Linked DNA regions of Homo sapiens: all the other regions are linked to region 4. Evidence: promoter capture Hi-C in 16 types of primary human blood cells and fetal thymus (Javierre and others, 2016). All regions are on one chromosome and are shown on one strand. Each heading gives the region's core, a stretch centred on a gene start or on the middle of the fragment in contact. The rest is flanking DNA. Distances are from core to core; before and after follow the strand shown.

The links. Contacts are between HindIII fragments. The CHiCAGO score rates a contact against its expected background, and 5 or more counts as called.
Region 1: the fragment with the promoter of UBE2E2 here is called in contact with the fragment with the promoter of SGO1 in region 4 in 3 of 17 cell types (erythroblasts, fetal thymus and non-activated CD4 T cells); the score reaches 6.6 in erythroblasts.
Region 2: a fragment that was not itself captured here is called in contact with the fragment with the promoter of SGO1 in region 4 in 6 of 17 cell types (non-activated CD4 T cells, naive CD8 T cells, naive CD4 T cells and 3 more); the score reaches 17.8 in non-activated CD4 T cells.
Region 3: a contact is called between a fragment that was not itself captured here and the fragment with the promoter of SGO1 in region 4, in 2 of 17 cell types (non-activated CD4 T cells and naive CD8 T cells). The highest score is 8.2, in non-activated CD4 T cells.

The regions. Positions count from the first base shown.
Region 1 is chr3:23,199,388-23,206,589 of GRCh38, forward strand. UBE2E2 (ubiquitin conjugating enzyme E2 E2) reads left to right here and starts at 3,940. Exons shown (of 6, transcript NM_152653.4): 1 at 3,940-4,077. It overlaps UBE2E2-DT (UBE2E2 divergent transcript), which reads right to left and starts at 3,606. Exons shown (of 2, transcript NR_136176.1): 1 at 3,477-3,606. RefSeq lists enhancers at 2,613-3,588, 3,001-3,060 and a silencer at 3,411-4,100. The HindIII fragment of the contact is 2,247 bases long and covers 3,242-5,488 here.
Region 2 is chr3:23,808,177-23,815,350 of GRCh38, forward strand. UBE2E1 (ubiquitin conjugating enzyme E2 E1) reads left to right here. Exons shown (of 6, transcript NM_003341.5): 3 at 3,284-3,334. Among named protein-coding and RNA genes, the nearest start is that of UBE2E1-AS1, 4.9 kb to the left of the region's middle. RefSeq lists an enhancer at 1,887-1,946 and a silencer at 2,417-2,736. The HindIII fragment of the contact is 658 bases long and covers 1,438-2,095 here.
Region 3 is chr3:23,921,842-23,929,099 of GRCh38, forward strand. It overlaps a transcript of NKIRAS1 not described here and a transcript of RPL15 not described here. Among named protein-coding and RNA genes, the nearest start is that of RPL15, 8.3 kb to the left of the region's middle. The HindIII fragment of the contact is 3,602 bases long and covers 1-3,208 here.
Region 4 is chr3:20,184,253-20,191,088 of GRCh38, forward strand. SGO1 (shugoshin 1) reads right to left here and starts at 1,954. Exons shown (of 8, transcript NM_001199251.3): 1 at 1,696-1,954. SGO1-AS1 (SGO1 antisense RNA 1) reads left to right here. Exons shown (of 4, transcript NR_132785.1): 4 at 1,723-1,863. RefSeq lists enhancers at 1,672-2,351, 2,372-2,431. The HindIII fragment of the contact is 754 bases long and covers 1,478-2,231 here.

The DNA.
Region 1 (7,202 bases), core at 2,690-5,189, 3.0 Mb after region 4:
TCCTTGATACATGGAGAACTTGAGGGGGAACTTCATCATTAGTGAGCAGAGAGCATGGTGTAGTAATCATCTATTGATGCATAACAAATTACCCTTAAAACTTAGTGGCTGAAAATAACAAACATTATCTCCAGATTCCAGAGTGGCTTAGCTGGGTGTTTCTGGCTCAAGGACTTTCAAGAGTTTGCAGTTAAGATGTTGATCAGGGCTTCATTATCTGAAGGCTTAGCTAAGGCTGAAGGATCTGCTTTAAAGCTTACACATGTGGATGTTAGCGGGTCTTATTTTTTAGTCACATGGGCCTCTCCACAGGGCTGCTCACAATATGGCAGCTAGCTTTCCCCAGAGTCAGTGACAGCAAAGAGAGAGAGAGAGCATCAGTGTGTGCGCAACCAAGATGGAAGCCCTAAACTAATCTTGGAAGTGACATACCCTCCTTTCTCACAGCATTACACCAACCCTAGCATGACGTAGGAGGGGATTACACAAGGGTGTGAATACCAAGAGGCAGGGATCAGTGGGACATCTTAGAGACTGATTACCATACTCAGGCAACGTCTAGGGGTGAGAGGAGCAGCCACACTTCTATGTTTGCATCTTAATTTACATGAATGGCACCCCCTGATACTTTGCAGTGTACAAAATACACGATCATACATAGTGGTCCAGGTAGCAGTTCCTGAACAAATGGGGAAGTCAGGGGAATTTGTCCTCAGTACACTTCTATTCCCTGCTAGAATTTCATTTATTTATTTATGAAACAAACATTTTTTTAAAGCACCTGGTCGTACCTTTGCGTTGGTACTGAACTAGGTAGGTAATGGGGTTGCAGTTCTATTGGAGTTTCAATTTTCCTACACCACTGTTGCCCTTAAGTATCCAAAACATTCGGGGTGACTACAGCCTCCTTCAAGCCAGACAGTATGCAACAGATCATTGTTTTCTATCCCATTCTTTGGAAAACCTGAGCTAATATGATGTTTCTTTCAAAGGGTATAATATAAATATGTAATAACCCCTGATAATTGGGTGCCTAACAAGAACAGAAGTTGCCTAAATAAGTAGCAGGGCTCTACCAGTATAATGCTTCTGCTCAAATTCAGCCCAGTTCCCCTGAGAGAGGTCTTTTCTATCACCCATCCAGTCAAACTGGAAAACTAACTGTGGCTCTACTTACTCACGAAGTTGGCAGTAACAACGTTTTAAGAAGGACCCTTCAAAAAACATTCCAATTTGCCAGTTGCAGGGGGAAAAAACGTAGGCTCTAAATTAATGATCAGAAATAAGAAATGTAAGAAAGGAGTGAGTTCATGACGACAGACTGATGGACCAGAGCAGAAAATATAAGGAAGATGAGCTATTTGTCTTGGAGACCAAGTTTGCACCGCAGAAGAGAGAAATAGAGAAAATCAAATAAATATTTATGTCTGTAACACCAGACTCATGGTAAAGTGTCCTTAAGTTCACAGACTCCAGAGCCAAACTGCTGATTTCGAGTCCCAGCTCTGCTCCTCACTAGCTATGTGACTGTAGGTGAGTGACTTAATCCCTCCGTACCTCAGTATTCTCATCTGTACAGTGGGGCTGATTGGATAAAACCAACCTGTGTGGTGGTTGTGACCTAGTATAACTAAAGTGCTTAGCATGCTGCCTAGCACAAATTAAGAACACGGTAAGTACTAATTATTGAAGAAATTAGAAACAATACCTATTGTGTCATCAACTGAAAGAGACCAATTTCTTTCACTCGGTCATTATCTATTGAATATATACAGCACTGAACCCCAGACGACGAAATCCTTTTTCTCAAGGTGCTTTTACGTGGGAGGGCTGGGAGAGGGAGGAAAAAGAAAGCAGAAGGGGGAAACTAATAAATAAGTAAAAAAATGTATTATGTCAGGTGGTGATCATGGAGAAAAAGCAGAGGATGTGGATAGGAAGTTCTGGGGGAGGAGTGGGAGGAAAGAATGTTCTAGAGATAGGAAATAGTAAGTACACAGGTCTTGAGGCTGAGGAATGCTTGGTGTGTCCATAACTGCAAGGCCGGTGTGGCTGGAAGGAGACGAGGATGGAGTGAAATCGTACAGCTTGAGGTCAGGGGAATCCTGGCTGGGAATGGTGGGCACATCATGCAGGCCATGTATCCATATTTTGCACTTTGGCTGTTGCTCTATGATGGGAAGCCACTGGAATTTTTGAGAAGAAGAGAGACATAATCTAATCTTTGTTTTAAAGGACAGTCGGCTGTGTGTAGGTGTTGGGGAGGGAGGAGGCGGAGAGTGGGAGGTAGAAAGATCAGGTAGGAGATAATTATTGAGAGATGATGCCTTAGACCAGGACATTAGCAGTGGGGAGGGGAGTGAGACGGAGTGGACATTTTCACCATATATTTGTGAAAACAGAGTCAACAGAATTTGCTGACGAATGTGATGCTGAGTGTACAACAGAGAAGGTTCAGACATAGGGAAGTTCTGAGGACAAGGATTTTTTTCTTTTATTCAATGTCATATATCTACCACCTAGACAGTGCCTGGTATCAATAAATATTCCTTGAATAAATGAAAAGGGTAACTGATTTGTATTAAACCCATTTTGAACTTAGTAAATAGCAGTTAAAACATCTACAGTCAAATGAAGTACTGTAGCAACCATAATTTCAGCAATTAAGCAGTGAAAGATCTTCCAATCCTTTCCTCCACAAAGATAGAAGTTAATTTTGCTGCATCCCTGGACACCCCGTTGCCAACGACCCAGCATTCCGTTGGTAAGTGAGGCTGGAGGTTGGAGTGGGAGAAATTTCGTGGAAGCTAAGTTCGCAAAGCAGGTACGTTTTTTTTTTTTTTTTAAACGGTTATTTGGGATGAGGAGTACAACGGAACCTAATGTTCCCTCATGCCACCTACAGCACTGCTACTGTTCCCATATCCTTCAACTGGGCATGAAGGCAGCTTCCCACTCACTCTGACAGTGGTGCACCCTGTACCCCCACCCCTCTCTTCAATACCCCAGGGCTAAACGGCCCGAAGCTCCTCTCTACCGGCTGGTGCGCATTCTGGGCCAGGGCGAGCCAAAAGGCAGAAGGGCCTTCGTGCTGCAGTGTCTGGTGAAGACTCAGGCTTAGCCTGGAAGAAGTTTCCAGGCCAACGTGAAGTTTTCCTGTCTTGGGTACATGCGAGCCCCACGCGTCTGCGAGTTTGGGTTAGTGTGTCAACAGGGTCAGTCCCCGTATCTACTTTGCGAAAGCTTCGAGGCGAGCGTGAAGTCAAGGGCTGCGGTGGATGGGGGTAAAAGGCCTCCTCGTCCCACTGCCTGCACCGTCTTGGGGTAACCCCTAACCCCCAGCCGGCGTTTCCCTTTAATGCGCGTGCCCGGCAAGGTCCTCGCGTCCCCTCCCCTCAAGCCACCCCGTCAGCCTCGGTTTCCCCCACTTCTCCCCGTCCTTGTCGTTCCTTCCCCGTGGGACGCCCCTCGCTCACCCCCGTCAGAGCCCAGTCTGCGCGCGGGACCCAGCTGTCACTTTACTTTTCCTCGCCGCCTCCCCACCCCCTCTCCCGACCGGCGGGGCAGCCCGCCCGGGCGCGCTCCCGCCCCCGCCCCCTCGCGGCCGCGCGCCGGAGGAGGAGGGGCGGGGGGAGGAGGGAGGCGCGCGGCGCCGCATGGCCGACGTGGGGCTCGCGCTCTCGCGGTCTCTCCCGGGCGGGCGCGCAGGCACGCGCACTCGCGGGTGCGCGCGCGGACGGCCGGGCGGCGGCGGCTCCCGGAGGTGGTGGCTTCACTTTCCAGGACTCAGGGGCAGCCACAGCGACAGCCGCGGGCAGCAGCCTCAGGAGCCGGAGCTGGAACGGCCGGGGGCGGCGGCAGCGGCGGCGCTGAGGGTGAGTCCGGGCGGGCGCGAGCGCGGCGGGGACAGGCGTGGTCGGGTGCGTGGTGCGTGGGTCCGGCTTTCGGTGACTAGACGGTCCGCAGGGGACATCCCGTCCCTGGGGCCTCCCCAGTCTCCCTCCCCCTCGCGCCTGGGCAGCTCTCTCCCAGGGCTTCGGCTCGAGCCTGCGACCTGCACGGACACCCCCCCCTCAGGTATTCGCTCGGGCCGCGCCGGTGCCTCCCCTCCTCGGGCGTCCTCCCTCTCGCTGACGTCCTCCTCACTCCCCCGACCTCCCCTCCGCGTCGCAGGTCTCTGCTTACACCGCTCGTGCCCTAGTTCCCTCCTTCCTCGCTCCCCGTGCCCGGTTCCCTACGCCCCCTCCCGCGAGCCTCCTGCCCCCGTTTCTCGCCCTTTCTACCCCTCCCCCTTCTTCCCATCCCCCCCTTCTGCCTCTTCTCTCCCTGTCCTCCTTCTACCCCCTTCCGTTCTCAGTTCCCCATCCTTCTCAACCCTCCCAGCGCTTTCCTTCTCCTAGCCGCATCCTGGAACTAAGTCTTTTCAAAAGTACAGGATAAATGTCACGGTGGAAAGTGCCCGGCTTGATCTTTTGCTATTTTCCCTAATTGCATAATTGCTGCACATGGTGTGTCTCCTGGCGAGTGCCGGGTTTGGCTCCTTCGCCGCCGCACCCCGGTGGCCCGCCCGGAGAAGACCTTGTGGGGTATATTTGTGTGTGTCCTGGTGAGGGGTGTGTGTTGTATTGGTCTTTTGTGATGCCTGGCGCTTGTCACAGTTTGGAACCGAAGCCCATTTTTCTCTGGTCTCTTCTCTGCAGCCCCCACTGGCCTGGTTTGAAACTGGATTCCCTCTGTCCTCTCCCCCTTCCCGCCCACCCCACTTCTCCCCCTCTTTTCTCCGATCTCTCTCATAATGTTTTGATCTTTTTGCCCTTTACCATTTCTAATGAAGATAAAGCGTGGCTTCTTGTGGCTTTTTTCCCCCACGACCAACCAGAAATGTCCAATCCATCTTCCCTTAAGGAAATTAAGGCTGCTTTAGAAAGACATCATCCTGTGCTCGGTGGCTGTTAGACCCATTTGCATGTTTTCAAGATTCATCGTTTTGTATTGTGTATTCTTGAGAGTCTACTAAAATATTTTTATTTAAAAGTACGAAAGGAAGTGCTAGGGTTTACCCTCAAAGTATCTCGCGGTTCTAAAGGATTTTACGCTCTTCTTAGTTTTTAATCCCTGATTTCTTTAAAAAGTATGTTTCTAGATATGTGATAATTCAGTCTGGACTTTGTGAATCTAAATATTTGCCTTTACTACGGCAATTTGGATGCTCCTTGGCTCTTTGGAATTCTGTATGTGGGCTGACGCTGAAATAGAGTGTTTTCATATAATGCCATACCCCATTCTCTTTCCCCTGCAGCACCTTTTACCCCCAAATCAGGTGTTCCACTGTTATTTTCTGCATAAATGTCTTTGCAGTTAAATTTAAAGCTGGATATTGCTGTGTGCATATACTATATATTTATTTTACATTTTAGAAAAGTTTAGAAACATGAGTAGGAAGACAGCAAGACATATATGACAGAATTAAACGCTTTCCTGTTATAAAAGCTTAAATGAACACTTGGTTTTGCAGTTTTATACTAGTAGATACTGTTATAAGGCTTACCTGGGTAGTAGGCTGGATTTATGGAATGACTATAGTTGCCTTTATGTAGTCAGTAATATTTCAAGCCAAATCATTTCATTTTTATGGAACATGTGAGTTTCATTCACTGTATGTTGCTAATTTCCAGGACTGTAATTACAACATAGGGTACATAGCTAATACAAGCTTAGACAGTTTGTGTTGAAGAAGTAACAATATGTAAGCCTCTTAATATAGTTTTAGGAAGGACTACTTATTTTATGGTTAAAAATTAAATTTTACTTTGAGTTATGAAGTAAGCGTATTTATCTCTCTCAATATCTTTGAAAGTATCATTGGAGAGTAGCTGTTTGTTTATAACCCTGGGATTTAAGTTTATCTTCCCTGTAGATGAGATAATCGGATCAGATTAGCTATTTAGGAATTAATTTTAAAATGCTAATTTAGAAGATAATGTTTAAAGGATTTTAATTCAGGAATTTTTATTCATTTGTACTTCAGAGAGACAAGACATCAAGTTTACACTTACGACTAATTAAATTGATTCATAGACTACTTTTTCTTCATAAAAATTCGTTGCACCTGAGTGGTACAATAATTTTTTTCTATACTTTTTCTGTAATCAAGCATTCAAAAAACAAACCCAGGAGAAATTCCTTTTATTATTGATATTTGAAAAAGAGATGTGAAAACTTTATTTCTAAAAGTTCCTATAGTGGTTATCAATGGCCTCAGATGGACTTATCATTTGTAGGTTAACATTTGGATGAAATATGTCTTAACTCAAAAGTGGGAATAATTCTTTTCCTTAATGTGAAACCAGAAATTACACCTCTGTTGGGGAATTTCTAATAGTATTTTTATTAGTTCTCTGGTGAGACTAATTTTTATTTTAATCTTCCTCTAATATTCGGCAGTAGAAATTTGAGTTTCAGATTATGGCTCAGATCACATCATTGAGTAATCTTTTTAAGTAATTATATAACTATGGCATTCGATAGTATGTAAATGCACATAAATAAGAATATTGAGAAGAATGTGTGGCTTTATAACTAATGTTATACACAACTGAAACTCTCAGCATAGTTTATTAAATCATAGTTTATTACGCTGAAGCTGCATCCTCAGTATAGAGAATATTATTTCATTGAGGTACCCATATATTTGTCATGGAATGGATTGCTCCTGTTTTAAAATGTATAAAATGATTTCTCACTCATTTCACATTTCTTAAGGTATTGCTGGCAGCATTTTGCTATATCTGAGCACCTTTCCCTGAGGATTGTTCTCTTTTTCACTCTCATGCATGCCGCCCTATCTGATATGCCATTATGTACATACTTACAAGATTTTAAACTTCTGATATATTTTAACTGAAAGAAGGTGAAAAAAAATATTAAATCCAAGAATGAGAATTTAGAGTGAAATAAAAATGAAAAAAAGCAAGAAATATGTTACGACTTTTAGAGCTAGATGTGAAACATACTGATATAAAATTTCAGTGTTCTATTAAGTGACTTTAGTGCTCATAAAAGATGTCACAGCTGTGGAGACTGGTGCTCTTCATTTACAGAATAGGTAGAAAAGTAGTCAGCTTTTCCGTTAGTATGTTTCAGAGCTGTTGGGGCAGATCTGTTTCTGTTTGGCATGGGGAGCTGTTGGGGTTGAAGGGGTG
Region 2 (7,174 bases), core at 517-3,016, 3.6 Mb after region 4:
AGGCCCTGAAGGTAGCTACTTTTTATCCCTGCCATCCTAAGCGGTCACCCTTTTTCTTTATTCTTTTCCTCTTAAGCCTCTGGAGGTAGCTACTTTTTACCCCTGCCATCCTTCAGTAATATCCTCTGATCGCCATGACCCTCAAAATCATCTTTAGTGGATTCCTAGGAGCTCTGAGACACCCTTTCATAAATCCTTCTGCTCTCAGAGTTAGGCAGTTGTTAAAAAGGTGGCAAACCAGGAAGATAGTAAGAACTCCAAATGATGGGATAGGGATACCCTTCTTAAAAATTTTTAAAATAAAGTAGAACATGAGACTTTAGATCTCTCCACTGAGTAGTGAGCCTGGAAGTCAGGGTTTGAGAGTTTGTTCTGTCATTCTCCCTGACTTGTAATTTGAAAACTTGGCAGTGTTTTGGTGACCTAACCATGGGCTGATGAAGGAGTGACTTTTAAAAAATAGTGTGGAGGTCTTAAGTGGCAAGGTGCCTCTGCAAGATTGTTCTCATTTTTATAGGTTTGGTTTGATTGTACAGCTTCTCAGGAGGCCTGACTGACCCTCACTGATTAGCCCTGTGCGGTTTTCCTGGAACCTGACATCTACTCTGCCCACTTGGGACGGGCCCTTCCTTAATACTGCGCCCCACCTCAATCCTCTAGGCTCTCTGATCCTCATTCACGTTTTGGCCTCACGTGCTCAAGCCAGGATACTTGCTTTTGGTAATTTGCATTTTTATATTTTGCTAGATATCCCTGGTGTACATGAATATATTTGGGGGTAAAGACACAGGTATCAAATAGAAAATACTCTGCTTTTGTTGTGAGTGAATTACAGAGAGGGGGATTTTTTTCACTAGACATACTTTGTTTATTTTAAACAAGTTAAGAATTTATTTGGAAGTTCTGGAAAAGAGATGATAGGTGTAGAAAAATGAAAGGTGGGAAGCTACAAATAGTAATTTTACCTATAAATTAACATCAGGGCTTTTGTTTTGTTTTTGCAATGAATTTAGCTCCTTGATAATCTTGCTGAAAGAGTAGCTATTAGTGTTAAAGCAGACCTAAAGTTAATAGAAAAAGGTAAAAAAATGGAGAGGGACAGTGTATCCAGGAAAGAGAATGGGGAAAATTGATGTTAGTGGGACCCTATAGAGGCTGTTCTGTGAAGTATATTGATTTGGAAGGTAGGTGTTGCCCATAGAATTGGAAGGGGCACATTCACCAGGAGTAGGAGTGAAAAAGAAGCCTGAATTGGCAGACTAACAGGCTGCTAACTGCATGTTGGAAAGTGGTTTCTAAACCGTGGGTAGAGGAAAGCCCCCATTGCAAGTGGTCTGAACAAGAATGACTCTCTGGAAATAGGTATGAGTTACTCCTGCAAATCTCTTGCCAGTTTTTTGGAAATGCAAATGCTGTCTGTCAAGATGAAGTTGATAAAGCTTTTTGGTATTAACGCTTCTTAGGTATTAAAGAAACAACTACCTTTTTTTGTGACTATTTTATAGTGGGAGTTGGGTTGGCAAGGAGGACTGAAGTCAATATGTATTTTTATATGCGTTGTGCTCCGGGGAGGAAATTTTTGCCTACGTGTGTAGGTCTTAAAATACAGTTATTTGAAAAGATTCAGGTAAAGAATCAGGAAACCAATTTTCCAAACTTTGAGTCTAATGTACAGTCATGAGTCAAACAGCGGGAGTATGAATGTCTCAGAAATGAAACGCTTTTTGATAGTAGAATTTAGCAGGACACAAATACGTGTCAATTGAGATTGTGAACAAACCCCTTTCTAAAGTTGACAGATACGTAGGGACAGGAAATGTCCTCCAGTAGGAAGGTTTATAGAACCTCCCCCAGTCGTCGTCCTTAAAACCTGTTCCTCATTACATATAGCTCGTCCGTCCTCCTACCCGCAGAAAACCTTTGGAAAGGAAAACGTATCCTTTGTGAATTAGATTGCTCTGTGTGTGTGTTTAAAATTTTTTTAACTACAGTGCTGCCTCGGTGAGATTTTTAAGTTGTAACATAGCCCCATTGGGCTTTATATGATAGGAGGAGGAAAGGTTATAAAATTAGGCACCGTTTAGAAGGTGGAAGAAGCTTAGAGGCCCTAAACTGTCGTATTAATTGATGCTCTAAGTGCCTAGGTAAGCAAAAGACAAAGGCCAGGGCTTGGTGTGAACTGCCTGGTGGCTTCGGCCTATGAGTGGGGGATGGGGCCCTTTGTGAAGTCGAGGGTTGGTGCGGAGGGAGAAAACTGCAGGTCTCCAGTCTATCCCCAGTGTGAGCTAGAGAGCGGACCATGAAGGAAGTGGGCAGACCCCGGGAAGTTAGAGGACGCCCGGGGAAAAGCAGGTCCGGGGAGGTGGGCCGAGAGTCCCGGCCAGCGTGCGGGGCGGAGGCAGGGTCCGGTGCACCTGTGCGGCCGCGGGCCGGCCACTTGGGGTCTGTGGTGCCCGAGTGGCGGGCGGGGGTGTTCGCGCCCTGCTTTCGCGCGCGGTCTCGGGCCAAGGTTCTGGGCGCCGGGAGAGGAGAGCTGGGGCGGCGCGGAGCAGCCCCCGTGCGGGCACCCTGTTCCCCTCCCCCGCCCGCAACTTCACCGGCGCGGCGCGAGCCGTCGGGGGCGCGCGCGGGGTGGGGGCGGCGTGGCCGGGCGGTGGCAGCCCACCGCTGGGGAGCGACCTGCGGTCTGGGCCTCCCGGGCACCCCGCCACGGCTGGCAGGTCACTCGGGCCCGAGGGGCCTCGTGGGGAGCGGCCATGTTGGCTTCGTCACTGAGGACTCCGGGCGGGTCGGGTGTTGAGCGAGGCCTCGGACCTTCGGCCTGTCGGGGGCGCCCTGCCGGGGTGGGCATGGGGGCATCTGAGGGGTGAAAGGGGCAAGGGAGGCTGGAGGCTGGCGTCCTTCCCACGCACCGATGGCTGTGATCTCTCCGTGCTGGGGAGAGGTGCAGGGGAGGGACTGAGGAAACCGGTCGGCAAGTGAGAAACTTTAAAATTAGGTCCTACATGGAAAACACCGAGGAATAGAACTGCCCTGGTGTGCGAGGCAAGGTTGGAAGCCAAACTTTGCAGATGAGAACAGGAGATTCCAGGCTGCCTCACTTCCTCCGTGAAAAGTTTTTTTCCTAAACTAGGGACCTGAAGTTCTTGATGTGTAGTTCCTCTTTGCCCAGTAGAATCCAGTGATCGCGCTTAGGTTTATCTGCAGACCTGCACGCTACAGGTGGGAGGCTTCCGCGCCTTAATGCTTCTTGTGTTTGTCTTTCCCATTTCTCCCACTCCAGAATTCAGAAGGAGCTGGCGGACATCACTTTAGACCCTCCACCTAATTGCAGGTGAGTTGCTTTTCGGATTTTTTCCATTTTTAAAATTCTTCTAACCTTTGTCTTGGGTTTTTCTTTTTATTATATACTTTTTCTTTGATTCTTTGGCTAATGCTTGTTATGGCACTAACATCACGTAACAGCTGAAATTTATTAACCTGAGTATAATGTTTTGATGAGCCTCTGACAAGCTCAGTACTGTTGAGAAGAAGTAATGGATTTATTTGGAGTGGATTTTTACATATATGAAACAAAACTAAAGTAAATTTAAAGGTGTCTCCTTGCCTAATCATGGGTCTTTGATATGCCATTAAAGATGATGTAAAACCTTTCAGATGCGAAGGACATTTTGGTTTGGAAAACTGCTTTGCTACAGTAATCTCTTATTCAATCTCTGCTAAGCTAAGAGAACATTAGAGTTAAACACTGGATCTTCAAACTTACTCCATAGCATATAGATTTTTTATTAGACTTTTGGCAGAGCAATTCAGGAAACAATTTCTGGCTTTGATAAAGGTTTTCTTTTAAATTGTAGAGTTAAACTTTCATGGGGTGTTTTTTTCACTTGCTTTATTCAGACTGTATACATATGTGTGTTTCAGTTTCAAAACAAATTGAAACCAGCTTTCTAAGGGTTTGTTGATCACAGCTTTATTTAGAGAAGCCATTTTGCTACTGTTGAGTCAAGGTGGAAGACTTGATGACTTTACTAGATCAACAATGAAGTGAGGGTAACTTACAACTATGTATTAGAATAGAACCATTTATTTAAGGGAGGTCCTGTAACTCCCATACTTTAAAAATTAAGTATAACATTTAACCTAGTTCTCAAGATCGGCGTTGGAAAGGGATGTGAGATTTCAGAAATACTCTAAACTTATTGGTAGGAGTAGAAGTTACTGACAAAGTATTCAGCGGCTATACACAATTTTTAAGATGAGTGTGTGGGAATAGGTTGAAAAGCTAAATGAAGTATTTTGTTTAGTAACAGTGAACTTTGGAAACTAATTAGTGGATTAAATACAAAACTATTGCCGTTTTGGTTACATTCATTCTTAATGTTGATTAGGTGTGGGATGCTCTTCCGTGAAACTTTGTCCTGTTTTGTAAGGAAAGTCATTTTGAGTTTGAAATGCTCTTAAACTATAGTTTATAATTGGAACACTTAATCATTCTGGGGAATTCTTTCCTGGCTAATAATCTCTCAAGATGGTTGAGAAGTGGAAAAACCATAAGACTTAGGCCTAACTCATTATTTTGATGGTGGTGGTTCACGTGGAAGCCTGTAGCTTCCCTTGGTTGTTTGTGTGGAATCCATGTACATTCCCCAAGGTGGTTCTGTGCTGTCTAGTTATTGCTCCTGCTTGGTATTGTGTGTCTCCTATGTGTGTGTTATTAATAACATTGATTAAAACATATAATGGCTTTCTTGTGAATAAGCACAGTCAAATCTAAAATTGTAAACCATTTGAAGATTTTCATGGGATTAAGCATTTAAAAAAAAAAAACAGTGTAAGTACACTTCAGTTTCACATCGTTTTAACTGAGTTTATGTGTGAAAGATTTATGCTCCTGAGGCATGTGGAACTTTTTTATCTTTGGGAAACCCTCCCAATTACCCCTTCAAGGTGAAACGTTTGGGAATTACCTGTGGTCAGGGGATGCACCAAACTGGGTGGCTGTTGGGTGATTGGTGTTACGGAGTCAAAGCTCAAAATACTAAATTTTAAGAAAAATCTCTGATTTGAGAGAAAATACGAGGCATCTTCATTTTGCAAGAGAATGTATATTACATTGTCTTTTAACAATAAAGATGACTTTATTTTCTGAAGATATTTTCCAGTGGGGCCGTTTGAGTAATGTGAATTAAAATTTTTACTTTTGGTTGGCTAATGGTGCTGTCTTAATGTTATATAGTAGTCCCAATATTCAGCTCTCTTAAAAGAGTTCGGTTTTACGTTTTGTGCTGTTACCTTTTGGAATTTAATTATTTAGTATTTTAATGTACTTTATTGGAGATAAAGATGGATTATTTATTTATTTATTTATTTATTTTCTTTTTGAGACGGAGTCTTGCTCTGTAGCCCAGGCTGGAGTGCAGTGGCATGATTTCGGCTCATTGCAACCTCCACCTCCCGGGTCCTGGTTCAAGCAATTCTCCTGCCTCCTGAGTAGCTGGGATTATAGGCACGTGCCACCATGCCCAGCTAATTTTTGTATTTTGGGTAGAGATGGGGTTTCACCATGTTGGCCAGGCAGGTCTTGAACTCCTGACCTTGTGATCTGCCCGCCTTGGCCTCCCAAAGTGCTGGGGTTACGGGCGTGAGCCACTGCACCTGGCCTTGGGGATACTTTTTGAAGTCAGCGTCCAATGAAAATCTATGAATTAAGTGATATATTAAGTGCGTACATGTTTAAAATTACCCTCAGCATGAAAGCATGAGATTTGAATGAGTTAAATAATTGGTTTTCAATTAGTCTGTCTTATATTTTTACCCTTTGCCATACTTCCTTTCTTCAGTCAGCATTCAGTGTGTAGTTTTAAACACGTTATTAAAATATGGCACTTGGCACATAGTAACTTCTCAGTAAATACAAAAATTAGCCGGGCATGGTGATGCACTCCAGCCTGGGCGACAGAGTGAGACCCTGTCTCAAAAAAAAAAGTTGATTATTGCAAATCAGTAGAATTGCTCCTCTTGAAGGAAGGTGCACTGTTTGTGTTCACTAATTTTGGCACTTGGCAAAAATATTTGAAGTTACTGAGCATCAAAACTTATGTGAAATGCAATTGCTCAATATGTTATAATGTATGAAAACATAAAATTAAATTCTTAATGTTGTATATTATGTTGGGTGGATATTTTTTAGAACACAGTACAGATTGTGTTCAATGACCTGGTCCAAAGTCATTTTAAGTAAGTATTTTCAAACTGCTTTATGTTGCCATAGAAATCAAATTCTTAATTTTAGTATCTGTGATTTGTGTGTGTGTGTATATATATGCATACACACACACACAAAATAGTTTCCCAACTCACTCTTCATTTTGGTTAGGCTTTTATTCCCATATCATTTAGCTCTATTCTTTTAGGGAAAAAAATATGTTAACTTTGTAATGATTCCCTAAAGCGTGCCAGATCTTAGATTGTAAAATTATGCCTTTTAGATAGCTGATGAACTCTGGGCCACCAGAGTCAGTTTTGCAGCTGTTATTTATAGCCCAGGGCTCAAACTTTGCTAAATTGACTAGTTATAACTAGCCTGTAGACACGAATATCTGTAGACAGTATGTCTATACAGACTAAATGGCATATTTTGCCTAAGTCCTTTAAACTTCAGATTTTATTTAATGGATATATTTGTTTCATGAGTAAATGTCTCAGTGACTTAACCTAGAAATTCAGATGGGGTGCTATTTTAGGATAAAATGTCTGAAAAGTCATTAAACACTTCAAGCATGGGTGAGAATAATAAAAATACATTTCTTTCTTTCTCACTTTTTTTTTGAGACAGGGTCTCATTTTGTCACCCAGGCTGGAGTGCAGTGGTGCTCACTGCAGCCTTGACCTCCTGGGCTTAAGCTGTCCTCCTGCTTCAGGCCCCCAAGTAGCAGGAACTACAGGCGTTCGACACTACACTCGGTTAATTTTTTGTATTTTTTTGTAGAGACCAGGTTTTACCTATTGGCCAGGCTGATCTTAAACTCCTGGCCTCAAGCCGTCCACCCACTTTGCCCTTCCAGAGTGCTGGGATTACAGGCGTGAGCCATGGTGCCTGGCCCTGATACTAGTTTTTCTGTATGTGACAGAATTTCCATTTAGCCTTCTTTTGATAGCTTTTTTTTCCCTA
Region 3 (7,258 bases), core at 158-2,657, 3.7 Mb after region 4:
TGGGATTACAGGCGTGAGCCACCACCCCCAGCCCAATTTTTATTTTTTGTACAGACAGGATCTCACTATGTTGCCCAGGTTGGTCTCAAACTACTGGCCTCAAGCAATCCTGCCTTGGCCTCCCAAAGTGCTGGAATTATAGGAATGAGCCACCACACCGGGCCCAAATTTACTTTAGTAATAACAACAATTGGCTGGGTGCGGTGGCTCACGCCTGCAATCCCAACACTTTCGGTAACCAAGGTGGGCTTGAGCTCATGAGTTAGAGAGCAGCCTGAGCAACGTGGTGAGAGCCCATCTCACAAAAAATAACAAATCAGCTGGGCATGGTGTTGCACGCCTGTAGTCTCCGAAATCACACCACTGCACTCCCATCTTGGGTGATAGAGCCAGAACTTGTCTCAAAAATAACAATTGGTTTCTTACAATCCCAAAAGGTGCAGTTACTAGTATTAATCCTTTTTTGCCAATGAGGAAACACAAAGATGAAGCAACTTGCTCAAAGTCATACAGTGACAGTCTGAATTCAAATCCTATACACTTAAAGTTTATTTGTTTTGTTTTGGTTTTTTTTGAGATGGAGTCTCACTGTGTCGCAAGGCTGGAGTGCAGTGGCACGATCTCAGCTCACTGCAACCCGGGTTCAAGCGATTCTCCTGCCTCAGCCTCCCGAGTAGCTGGGACTACAGGCACGCACCACCACACCCAGCTAATTTTTGTATTTTTAGTAGAGACGGTTTCACCATGTTGGCCAGGATGGTCTCGAGCTCCTGACCTCAGGTGATCCTCCCGCCTTGGCCTCCCAAAGTGCCGGGATTACAGGTGTCAGCCACTGCACGTGGCCAACTTAAAGTTTTTGATAGATAATACATTAACGTTAAAAATTCAAAAGATAAGTATAGGCTCTACAGTACAAACCCTTCTGCCTCCTAGTTCCTCTCCCTGGAGGCAAGGTGATCAGTTTAACAATATTTTTTTATTTTGAGACAGGGTCTCACTGTTGCCCAGGCTGGAGTGTAGTGGCGCGTTCACAACTTACTGTAGCCTCAACCTCCTGGCTCAAGCAATCCTCCCACCTCAGCCTGTCGAGTAGCTGGAACCACAGGTGCACACCACCATGCCAGGCTAATTTTTGTATTTTTTGTAGAGACAGGGTTTCACCATGTTGTTCAGGCTGGTCTCAAAGTCCTGGGCTCAAGCAATCTTCCTGTCTCTGCTTCCCAAAGTGCTGGGATTACAGATGTGGGCCACGGTGCCTGGCCTACATATGTATTTTTTCCTTTTCTTCCCCAAGTGGTAGGATATGATACACATTGTTGATTTTTTTGTTTAGTTATGTATCTCAGAGCTTATTCTTTATCAGCTCATGAGGAACTTCATTTTTTTTTTTTTTTTTGAGATGTAGTTTTGCTCTTATAGCCCAGGTTGGAGTACAGTAACACAATCTTGGCTCGCAGCAACTTCTGCCTCCCAGGTTCAAGCGATTCTCCTGCCTCAGCCTCCGAGTAGCTAGGATTACAGGTGCCTGCCACTACATCCAGCTATTTTTGTATTTTCAGTAGAGACGGGGTTTCACCATTTTGGCCAAGCTGGTCTCGAACTCCTGACCTCAGGTGATCCGCCCATCTCAGCCTCCCAAAGTAGTGGGATTACAGGCATGAGCAACCGTGCCCGGCTGGAACTTCATTCTTTTGGTATAACTGCATGGTATCCCATCATGTGGATGTACCATGATTCATTGGATGTGGACCCTCCTGATGGACATTTAAATTTCTTCCAATCTGTTGCTATTACAAAAAGAAAAATGTGTGCATACATCTTTATTCATCTGTAGAATAAATTCTTAGAAGTAGAATGGCAGAGTTAAAAATTGTATGTATATAATTTTTTATAGATATTGCCAAATTGTCTTCCATAAAAGTTGAACCAATTTTCACTACCACCAGCAAAGTAGGAGAGGACTTGTTTATCCACACCCTCTTTAATGTATGTAATCAAATTTTGGGATATCTGCCAGTCTGTTAGGGGGAAATGATACTCTTCTCTACTTTTATTTTGCATTCTGAGTGTGGCAGAGGCAAAGCTATGTGCATACCATAGCTTTTTCTCCCCCTGAAAACACAACTAAACTACATTGTTTTCCTGGCCTCTCATGCATTTAGGTTGGGGTCATATTACTTCCCTCCAAGAAAAACAACAGTTGGTATGCCTCCTCCACACTTCCCACAACTGTGGAAGCCAGTGATCCAGATAGCATAGCTATTAATACAAGATGGGTGAAAGCTGCTCAACCGCATCAGACAGCATGAGTGGTAAGATTTTATTGTGTCAAACGACTGCATTAGTTGTGTTTTGTTATTATGGCAGCATAGCCTAGCTTAGCCCTAACTAATTCAATAAATAAAGTTGAGCATTATTTGTACATTTAAAAGCGTTTTTTATGTTTGCTTTACAGTGGCTTTCCACTTTTCTATCAGAGAATCCCCCCTCCCTTATGTACCATGCTATATTAATAAATTGGAAGGAGCTGCTAGCTCATTTCTCCTATGCTTCATAATTTTTCTGCTCATGAGATTCTTATTTTTTGAGACGAGTCTCTGTCACCCAGGCTGGAGTACAGTAGCACGATCTCAGCTCACTGCAACCTCCACCTTCTGGGTTCAAGTGATTTTCATGCCTCAGCCTCCCAAGTAGCTGGGATTACAGGTGTGCGCCACTACTAATTTTTTTGTACTTTTAGTAGAGGCGGGTTTGCACCATGTTTGCCAGGCTGGTCTATTACCCCTGATCTCAGGTGATCTGCGCCCGTCTTGGCCTCCCAAAGTGCTGGGATTACAGGAATAAGCCACCAAGCCTGGCCCTGCTCATAAGATTCTTGAAGGTAACTTTATGTAGAATAAATTCTTCAAATTTCAACTGTTCATTTTCGCCTTTCAATTCTAAGTTCTGATTTCATCTTTAAGTTCTGAAATTCCTAAACCAAATTAGTAGCTATATTGTATCAGGCAGACTAAATGAGGCAACAGTAATAGCCTCCAAATTTCAGTGGCTTAAAATAATAAAGATTTGTTTCTTGATCATACTTCATGTATGTTAAAGATTGTTCTCACTCTAGAATCCAGACTGTTAGAACAGACACTATCTGGAACATTGCGAGGTGTCCATGGCAGAGGGCAAAGAGCATGGCGTAGAACACCCTAACCTGTAAAGCTTCTGCTCAGGTTGTCCCATGGCTACTCCTGGGTTCAAAGGGTGGGGAAGTGATATCTTCCAGTGCTTGGAAGGAGAGAGAGAATCAAATATTTGTGAACAGCTCTAATGTCTACCACATACACTAATCCATTTCGTTTCTCTTTAGTCTTTGTACCCATTTGAAGTATTATGGAAAACAGCTAGTATACCAAGGAGAAAGCAGGAACCAGCGCAGTCCACACTGGTAGAGAGAGTATTTTGTCACTGACATTGCTTAGCATTGCCAGAATATGATGATGTTGAAAAAGAACATACTGAGACTGGGCTTGGTGGCTCACACCTGTAATCCTAGCACATTGGAAGGCCGAGGCAGGCGGATTGCTTGAGCTCAGGAGTTTGAGACCAGCCTGGGCAAGATGGCGAAACCCGTCTCTATTAAAAATACAAAAAATTAGCTGGGCACAGTGGCATGCGCCTGTGGTTCCAGCTACTCAGGAGGCTAAGGTGGGAGAATCACCTGAGCTTGGGAAGTTGAAGCTGCGGTGAGCCAAGACTGCGCCACTGCACTTCAGCCTGGTTGACAGAGTAAGACTCTGTCTCAAAAAAATAAATAAATAAATAAATAAATGTACTTTTACTCAGTTTTTGTTGTTTTACAATTCTCCTACAGACAATGCATTCCCTTATTGAGTTAATTCATTTGGTAAAATATGGTTATCTGCATACAACTCTGCAACCAATTCATTTGACACTTTATTATGTGATAGCTTCCTTGCTGTATACCCACAAATATTCACTGAAAAATACTTTAGCTGTATGCTTTTCAATATGATAGCCACTAGCCATCTGTGACTTTTAAAATTTAAATAGGATTTAAAAGTCAGTTCTCCAGTCATATTAGTTACATTTCAAATGCTCAGTGGGCACATTGGCTACCACGTTGGACAGCACAGAAAATATTTTGACCATCACAGAAATTTCTGTTGTATAGTGCCAATTTATTTATTTTTATTTTTATTTATTTATTTATTTTTTGAGACAGCGTCTTGCTCTGTCGCCCAGGCTGGAGTGCAGTGGCACAATCTTGGCTCACTGTAACCTCTGCCTCCCAGGTTCAAGCAATTCTCCCTGCCTCAGCCTCCCAAGTAGCTGGGATTACAGGCACCCGCCACCACGCCCAGCTAATTTTTGTGTTTTTAGTAGAGACAGGGTTTCGCCGTGTTGGCCAGGCTGGTCTCAAACGCCTGACCTTAGGTGATCCACCTGCCTTGGACTCCCAAAGTGCTGGGATTATAGGTATGAGCCATGGCGCCCGGCCATAGTACTGACTTAGACCCTTGAAATTCTTCTTTATTTCTTCTTCTTTCTTCTTCCTCCTCCTCCTTCCTCCTCCTCCTCTTGCTCCTCGTCCTCCTCTTCTCTCTTTTTTCTCTTCTTCCTCTTTCTCTCCTTCTCTTTCCTCTTCCTCTTCTTCCTCTTCTTTTTTTTTGTGTCATTCTCTAGTAGATGAAGATGAGGCATATGAAGTCTAGTTTTACCGTAAAAAGTTTGATGTATAGATTTCATATGAGAATAGTATTTGTTGCTATAGATATTTTAATTGTATAATTACCACTTCCTTTGTCAGGGCGATTTTAGGTTTTTAGAAGTTTTTGATAAGAGTTTTATCCCAATGGTACAAACTGTAGAAGAATGAACTGCTACAACACCTTTTCTAAGAAAAAAGGTTTTGGTCGAAAAAGACCTTTAGTTTTCCATTTGCTGCAATTTGGCTGCATCTTTTGCCAAACTGTTGGACCTTTGAAATCAGTTTTATAAATATTCATCATTCAGAGAAGAAACAATTCTTTGGATTTGTCCTAGAAGGATCAAGCTGGCCTGAAATACCAATAGGGGGTGACATGCACCAACAAGCTACACTTTGACCATCAGCTGCCCCAAACAGGATGAAATCCATGTCGCAGTTTTTAACCAAGCAACACTCTCCACAGCCCCAACATCATTCCAGTTCAGCCTTGGGAAGGCTGACTAGACATTTAGCTTCTCCATCGATTTTAGTTATTCTTATTAATGATGCAGTGAACATCATCACTATACATATAGTTTTCAACCTATTTTTATATAAGAAAAATAAACTGAAAATAAAGCCTTTTAGTATAAAATGCTGCTCAAGTTTTCTTTAGAAAAAGAAGAATCTGCTGCAAGGCTGAGTGCAGTGGCTCACGTCTGTAATCCCAGCACTTTGGGAGGCCAAGGTGGGAGGATCCCTTGAGGCCAGGAGTTCGAGACCAGTCCAGTCAACATAGTGAGGCCCCCATCTCTATATTTCTTAGTTGAGGAAAGAAAAAAAAACCTACTGCGAAGGTGCTATAGTTGGCTTGTGACATTAAACCTCATAATCAAAGCATTCAAACTTAACGAAATGCTGTAGCTGGAATGCACACTTCAGCTCACTCTGAAATCCTGGCAAACGGCAACTCACTCCTCCAAAACTGATGAAAGCATTTGATTTAATTGGCATGCTGTGAACATCTGAACTCATTTATTGGCAATTCTCATTGTCATTTGGAGAGAAGTTCATTATTTGGCAGTCCTAGTTAGTTAGAGACATTAACTGATGGATGATGTAATTATCAGTCATCAAATCACGAAACTTGTTTCTATGAGAGTGTAAACATACTATTTAGCTTCCCGAGGTTGATTATTAACTAAGCTAGGATGTTTTGCTTATCAAAAAGAAAGATTCAAAAAATGATCATCCAAGGCTGGGCATGGTGGCTCATACCTGTAATCCTAGAAATTTGGGAGGCCAAAGTGGGAGGACTGCTTGAGCCCAGGAGTTCCAGACCAGCCTGGGCAACATGGTGAGATCCTGTCTCTACAAAAGATTAAACAATTAGCCTGGTCTGGTGGTGCATGCCAGTAGTACCAGATATGCAGGAGGCTGAGGTGGAAGAATTGCTTGAGCCTGGGAAGTCGAAGCTACAGTGAGCCATGTTGGTGCCACTGCACTCCAGCCTAGGTAACAAAACAAGACACACTCTCTCTCCTCTCTCTCTCTACACACCACACACACACACACACACACACACACATACACACACACACAGTTCATCTGAGCCAGGAATGGTAGCCCACACCTGTAGTCTCAGCTACTCAAGAGGCTGAGGCAGGAGAACCCAGGAGGCAGAGGTTGCAGTGAGGCAAGATTGCACCACTGCACTCCAGCCTGGGCAACAGAGCAAGACTCTGTCTCAAAAATAAATAAATAAATAAATAAATAAATAAATAAATAAATAAATGTTATCATTTGAATACCATTAGTGCTTAGTAACTCTCCAATCCCCCATAACTCTTTGGTGAACTGACATTAAGTTTCTAAATATATAAAATGTAATTTACATTCTTAATTCTGATATGTGTCATGTTTGGCTTGTACAGAAAAATAAAGATCCTGTTGCATCTTGAAAAAAATGTTCATACTAATTTTTTTCCTAGAAACACTGTAATTTCAGATAATGCCATATGTGGAAGCTGACTCCAAGTCAAGATTTGTTTGCTAGTTTTTCATTACTGAAGTGCTTTTAGGAGAAACCGACAAGGGCATGAGGAAGTCAGACCAAAAAAACAGAAGCCTCAAAGTATGATTTAGGCTTAAAAAAAAAAAAAAAAAAAAGGCCGGGCGCTGTGACTCACACCTGTAATCCTAGCACTTTGGGAGGCCGAGAAGGGTGGATTGCCTGAGCTCAGGAGTACAAGACCTGCCTAGGCAACACGGTGAAGCCCCGTTTCTAATAAAATACAAAAAATTAGCCAGGTGTGGCGGTGTGCGCTGAGCCTGTAGTCCCAGCCACTTGGTAGGCTGAAGCAGGAGAATTGCTAGAACCCAGGAGGCAGAGGTTGCAGTGAACCGAGATCGTGCCACTGCGCTCCAGCCTGGGCGACAGAGCGAGACTCCATCTCTTTAAAAAAAAAAAAAAGAAAAGAAAAGAAAAGAAAATATATTTAAAACAAAAATTAAAATTAACTGTAAAAACCATGTTTTGTGCCAGGCGTGGTGGCTCAT
Region 4 (6,836 bases), core at 704-3,203:
TTATTGAATATAGATTTCCAACCCAAAGATTCCACAATATGCCACTTATTCATTCTTTAACAAATACTCACTGTGGGGTATATGCCAGACACTATTGAAAATGCTTATTATTATATTTTGATGCATTATTTACACTTTTTATAGAAAATGTTTAGGACCAACTTTTACTGCTTAAGCTTACAGCATTAGTTCTGAGGCAATTATATATTTGGGTTTTGTTTTCCAGCTCTTCTCTAATGATTAATTCATCAGATTAGGTCATTCAACTATTTTTCCATACTCTTTAAACGCAATTATCACTTATGATATGCACACAGTCTCAAGAAAGTCAAGGTACTCCTTAGAGGTTTAAACTATGTAGCACTACATACAATTTTAATAGGCTATTGTAACAAGTACAGAGCTAGAGCAGGAACTTGGGCAGAGGAACACTCTAGTATTCTCAAACTGTGGCTAAAAGTTAGGGCTGTTAACTCCCAGTAAATTATGAACATAACAAATCAGACATTAAATATTGTTGTACATACAGTTAAACGTTGAGTATTAAATACATAACTATACTTAATCTTTCAACGTTGCAAATCAGGTAGGCTTTAGCATGCTACTAAACATGTCAAACCACTTTTCACAAACATCTTTTACGCTAGATTGCACTTTGCAGATCTTAAAATTGCAAAAAAAAAAGACTTGTTTCCAATAACAATCTATGCACAGAATTTTCACTACAAAGGATATCTTCATCTCCTCTACGATAGTCAAATATTTTCCTAAACCTTACACTTAATCTTGAGTATTTCCTCCAGGCCTTATTTTCCTCTATGCAGTGTCTGGAATCTTAAATATAGGTATTGTAGATACCACTTAAGAACTTTCTTTCTACCAAGGTATATACAATATGTACTGGGAGGTTCCTAGCAGAGATAGGGTAGCTATTTTTAAAAGCACGAACGGTAAAGGGGTTGTTTTACACAATTAAGTTAGAATTGGAGATGTTTGAGAGTCATACAGATTAAGTAACGGATCTAGTTTAGTTAAGGTATTTTAAAGGCAAAGCCTTACCTAAAAAGCTTTCGTTATTACTTTTAATCAAGTTAAAAATCACAAAAGAAACTTGCCATATCAAAAGTTTTATATCCTGTCTAAATAAGGCGATGGTTATTAGCAGGGGGTGTGGTAGACAGAAGGGATGAAAGCAAAGACAGACCACAGCGCGAGATGACGGTCTCAATCTGTACAGTACTCGTGTAAGCGCTCTGGATTTAAAGAACCTAGCATATTTGATCTCCGTCCATAATTCTCCAATTAGTCCTGCTGCGAAGACAGCCAGGTAGGATACTAGTCAGTGCCGGCCTCTCCAGGGTAAGTGAGGAAGAGAATGGCCTGGACAAGGAGGACGTCAACGGTATCACGCTGCACAAAGAACTGCTGTCAATTTTCTTGTGTCCTTACGTTGAGCCAGGCTTTTAGCTATTGTAAAAGCTTTATTTGCACATCACTTAATCTACACAATTTTGCAAAGTAGGAAATTAGGGTCTCCATGGAAGCCGGAACATCTGAAAGCGCAGATCGAGTGGCTGAACGGCGAAAAGCGCGGCGAGTGGGACTCCACGGCCCGAGCTTTCGGCCACCGAATTTAGAATGATACTGAAAACCGAAGGGAAGTCAAACAGGGATCACTACGCCCTTGTTTCGCACCTTAAAACCTACTTCTTCCTCTTTCAGGGACTCCAGGAAGGCCGGGGGGAGGTGGGGCTGGCGGAAGTGGACGCGGCGACCCTCCTGCCGCAGGCGCGTCCAGAACGATACCTTGGCCACTACTTCTGCAACAGCTATCTTCCTCCTCCTCACATTTCAAGGCTCTTCGAAGCTCTCCAGCCACGGCTAGCCCCGCGCACTGGGCCCTCCAGGACCGTACCACCGTCCGCCGTCGCCTGGAACTACCGCCGCCACATTCGAAATTTTCCGCCTCGCTCCTCCATTGGTTGGCTGGGAGGCGGTCACGTGGCGCAGGATGCACCCAACACCACCGTCGCAGGCAGAGTCCCGCCCCGCCAGGCGACGTCACGTGACGCACATTCGCTCAAGTCCACATCCGGGCATCCACCTGGCCCTGGGGCGGAGCCTGCGGTCGGGTCTCGGCGACCCGCCGGGACTTTCTAATCAGAGTCGTGGGGATTTTACGGGTGGAGTTACTCCGAAACCTTTAAGGCCGAGTGTGATAGGTAGTTCAAAGCTTCCTGTTTCTTCAGTCTGACAGCTTCAAATGTCCCGGGTTGTGCTCAAAGCCTCCCTCTTGTGAGAAGAATCTCTTTGGTTGCCTGTTAAAGCGGTCAGCCAGCTTGCAACACGGAAGCAGCTTTTAGAGGAATTAAAACCAAAACAAGGAGCAAATTCTGGATTAAAAAGGTATTAGGGAAACTGCAGATACCTGAAAATTCTAGCTCCATGTTTCTCTTTGCCGGCTATCTCTGGCTCTTTAACTCTTCTCGAGAAATGGCACCAACATCCATCCAGTTACCGACTAGAAGCCTGAGAAATCGTCCTTAATGATTATTTATCCTCTCTTAACCTTTGCCCGTCCAGTCGGTCACACGATCTTCTCAACTCTGCTTTCCAAGTTTCTCTCATGCCCATCTTTTTCCCCCCAATCCAGCTTCCAGCCTAATCTCATTCCCTAAATTGCACTAGTACCCACTCTGACCGCAGACTCCACTCCCTATATTCTTCATAGATTAATATTTTTACAAAACAAGTATCAAATAGGAAACTTTACAATGGCTCCCTATTGCATTTAAGGTGAATTTCAAACTCCTTTAAGATATTTTGTCCTTAAAGAGCCCCATGATTCCTGGTTCCATCACTTGTACATTTTCTTTAATTTTCTTAAAATTCTTGCCACTTTTGCCAATGCTGTTCTGTCAAGAACACTCTTTCCCTTGGCCGAACTTACTCCTATGTATACTGAAGTTTCACTGTACAGATGAATTCTTCCAGAAAGACTTATCTACCCCTAAAGCCCCTGAGTGTCTGCTTTACACTTTCTTAGTGCCCTGCATTTTCCCCTTGGTATTCCTTGTGACACTGACTTGTCGTTCATTGCCTGTTTCTTGAAGTTGAATAAGGGCAGGAACTACATCTGCTTTGTTCATAGCTAAATTGTCAGCATCTCGTTGCAATTTGAAGTAAGTAGTAAATATTCACTGGGACAATAAAGGAACAAATAAATGAAAACGAAACAAATGTTTTGAATCTAGGCATTCTTTATGAAGGTGTGTTGTTGTTTTTTAAAGGTAGCTAACACATGCTTGCTCTAGTCTGGGTACCCATCCTGGCTTGAGTGGAAGAGGCTGAAACACCCTTCTCCAGCCAACAACTCCCTCGTTTTCCAAGTTAACCAGACCAACTCCATTAACCCTCAGTTTACTGCCACTGGGCAATGTGGCTTATATGTGTAGAAGCATCAAGAAGGAATGGGCAGAGAGGTTTTTTGTTGTTTGAGGTCAGAAAATTATGAAGTGGAACATGAGAGCAGAGAATAGGGCCAGCTTCATGAGCAGGCAACCGGTGCTTAGAAGGGCTGTACATTTGGTTTAATGCTCTGCTGTTGCCGTCTTGAAATGCTTAGGAGTTTATATTTGAACTTATGTTTTGTAAGTGATGTCTGATGAGACAATGGAGCAATCTTGTGAGCAGATGTGATTCATGCAATGTGTGTGTCTGTCACTGTTTCTTGCCCCATGTCATACAATGTTCAGGATGCGCACTAAATGGCCTCCATGAACCACTTATTTTGTAGTTAGGGACCTAAGTACAAAGTGCTCAGAAGGGCTCACCCTTGCCCTCTTGAAATTATTATTATTTTCTTTGAGACGGAGTTTTGCTGTGTCTCCCAGGTTGGAGTGCAGTGACATCATCTTAGCTCACTGCAACCTCTGCCTCCCAGGTTCAAGCAGTTCTCCTGCCTCAGCCTCCCAGGTAGCTGGGATTACAGGGACCCACCACTACGCCCCCTAATTTTTGTATTTTTTTGTAGAGACAGAGTTTTGCCATGTTGCCTAGGCTGGTCTCAAACTCCTGAGCTCAAGTGATCTGTCTGCCTCAGCCTTCCAAACTGGGATTACAGGCTAAGCCATCATGCCCAACCACGTTACTATATTTTCTAACCACTTACACTAAAAGTGATGGCATGAAAGGAAAAGGAAAGATAAGACATTCCACAATTCCTTTTCTTTTCAGTCTTTCTCTACTTATCGGTAAGCTGAAGGTTTTTGTCTTGGATTTTGAACAAGGAGCATCATATTTTCATTTCACATTGACCCACACAGATTATATAGCTGGCCCTGACCAAAGGCTTTGAGGTTCTGACTTTTTGAGGGGTGTCTTCCCCGTTCCCAATTTAAAAATGGGTCAGACTTCAAATCAGGTGTTTATTATAGAGCCCTAAAGAATAGAAATGGCTGAATTTAGGGGCAGTGAGGGAAAATACCACCAGAGTCCTAGCATGAGTAACTTTTGTACATCAAAATGTTCTACTGCCGCTGATTTTAGGGAACTGAATTACTGTTGGAATCAATAGCTCTTTTAAAATTTTGTGGAAACTACAACTCTTCCCAGGAAGAATGCACATATTCCTTTTTGAACAAAAATATGCATATTTCAAAGAGTACTAAATGGTGGACTGGAGTTTGAACCCAGGAAGCCTGGCTCCAAAGTCCATGCTATTAACAGCTGGACTATGTTCTGCGACTTCTCCCTTTTGTTATATCACAGTTGTACCCAGCCTAATTCAGAGATAATCCATGGTTTAATTATATCGCAAAGTACAGTGTAGGAACACATCATCTAGCTGACAAACTGAGAAGAACCTATGAAAGGGTAACCAATTAGTGAAAATTCTTTGTTTAATTTAATAGATGTTTAGAATAGTTATGGTATAATTCAAATCATTTTAACTTCTTAAAAAGCTTGCTCTCAAATGATAGTGAATATTTGTAGCTGCATTACTTTCAAGGTTTTTCAAAATGTGAATGCATGTTATTTCTACTTTCATTGGTTTTAACTTTATGATGTATTTAAAATATAATGAGCACTCACATTCTCCCCTGCAAGTTCCTAAAATCCCAATAAAACTGCTTGTTACTAATCTTTAACTGCCTTGTTCCTAACATTTATTACTATGTGCAGATTTTATGATTTTTATTTACGGAGCTGAAGTCCTGCACAGACTTGATATCTTCTTCTGATTTCTTCTTGGTGGTGGTGGTTGTTTTCTGACAGGGTTTGTCACTCTGCTGCCCAGGCTGGAGGGTAGTGGTGCGATCATGGCTTGCTGCAGCCTCAACTTCCCAGGCTCAAGTGATCCTACCACCTCAGCCTTCTGAGTAGCTGGGACCATAGGCATGCATTGCTATGTCCAGCTAATTAAAAAAAAAAAATCTGTAGAGACAGGGTCTTGCTATTTTGCCTGGGCTTGTCTCGAACTCTTGGGCTCAAACCACTCTCCTGCCTTGGCGTCCCAAAGTGCTGGGATTACAGGCATGAACCACCATGCTTGGACTTCTCCTGAATTTTTATCAATATTATTATTTTGTATTTTATTATTTCTTTCTGGTTCATGTTCTCTTGTGATCTCCTTATTTTTAAAGAAAAAAATTAAACTCCTCTCTGTTTATTTGACAATCAAAAATATATTAATGTGTCTCCTCTCTGGAATTAATATTTTAAAAAAATTTTTTGAGAAAGTTTAATACAATAGTTATCATGGAATGTGGTGCGGATTAACTTGAATAGCAATACAAAAATTAGTAATTTGGTGACCAAAATTTTCAAAACTGAAATACAGCAAGGCATCAAAATGTTTTGTGACTGTATTTTTTTGACGTCTGCTTTTATTAGTTTAGTACTTTCTTCAGCTCAATAGTGACAGGCTTTGGAGAGTTTGTACATGCATAAAGTGGGCAGAAGACTACAAGGAATAGATAGCACTTTATGCTGTTTTTATGTTTCATTTGTGTTTTTCAGAAATATGCATATGTATTGCTTTCATAAGGCTATTATTTATTGTATAGTGGAATTCATGTCTTTTTTTTTTTTTTTTTTTTTAGTGGTTCCCATTTCTCTTAGCATAGCGAGACATGTGAACAATTAGTTGAATTATAACAGCTAACACTGAATGAGGGCATACTTTCTGCCAGGAAAATACTAGTGCTTTATATGAATTAACTCATTTTATCCTTGTGATAAAGCTTATAAACCTATTTTTTCAGATGAAGAAATAGAGGCGTAATGTGGTGAATCTAGTAAGCATGAAGCCAGGTACAAGCTTTGCTGTCAATCTGACTCCAGGGCCTGTGTCCTTAATCATGATACTATATACTTTAAATACATTTACATTTATTGATGTTGCTTTGACCTTTGTCAAATCATTCAAATGTCTAAAGGCCTACCACATACAGATGTGAGGAAGTCTTTGTGATGGCTAATGTGAGTGTAAGTCCCAGAGGAAAAGGGATACATACACACATACCAGAGTTATGTCATTTTTGTTAAGGCTTTATGCTAGAAACACAAATTATTGATGCTATGTTATTTTGTTGCTAATTTTGGTTTTGTGTCATGTGCTGATATCATGAACCAGTAAACACTTATGGATCATTAAAAGGGATATAAGCATTAAAAGGACAATAAGAATAGTCGAGTACGATCAAAATCAGTGTTTAGTTCCATCTCAAGCAGCCTGGTAAGAATAAGGCAGAGAGAAATTTAACACATACGGAGAGAAGGCAATGTGAAGATGAAGATAGAAATTATAGTCATGAGGCCACAAGCCAGGCACA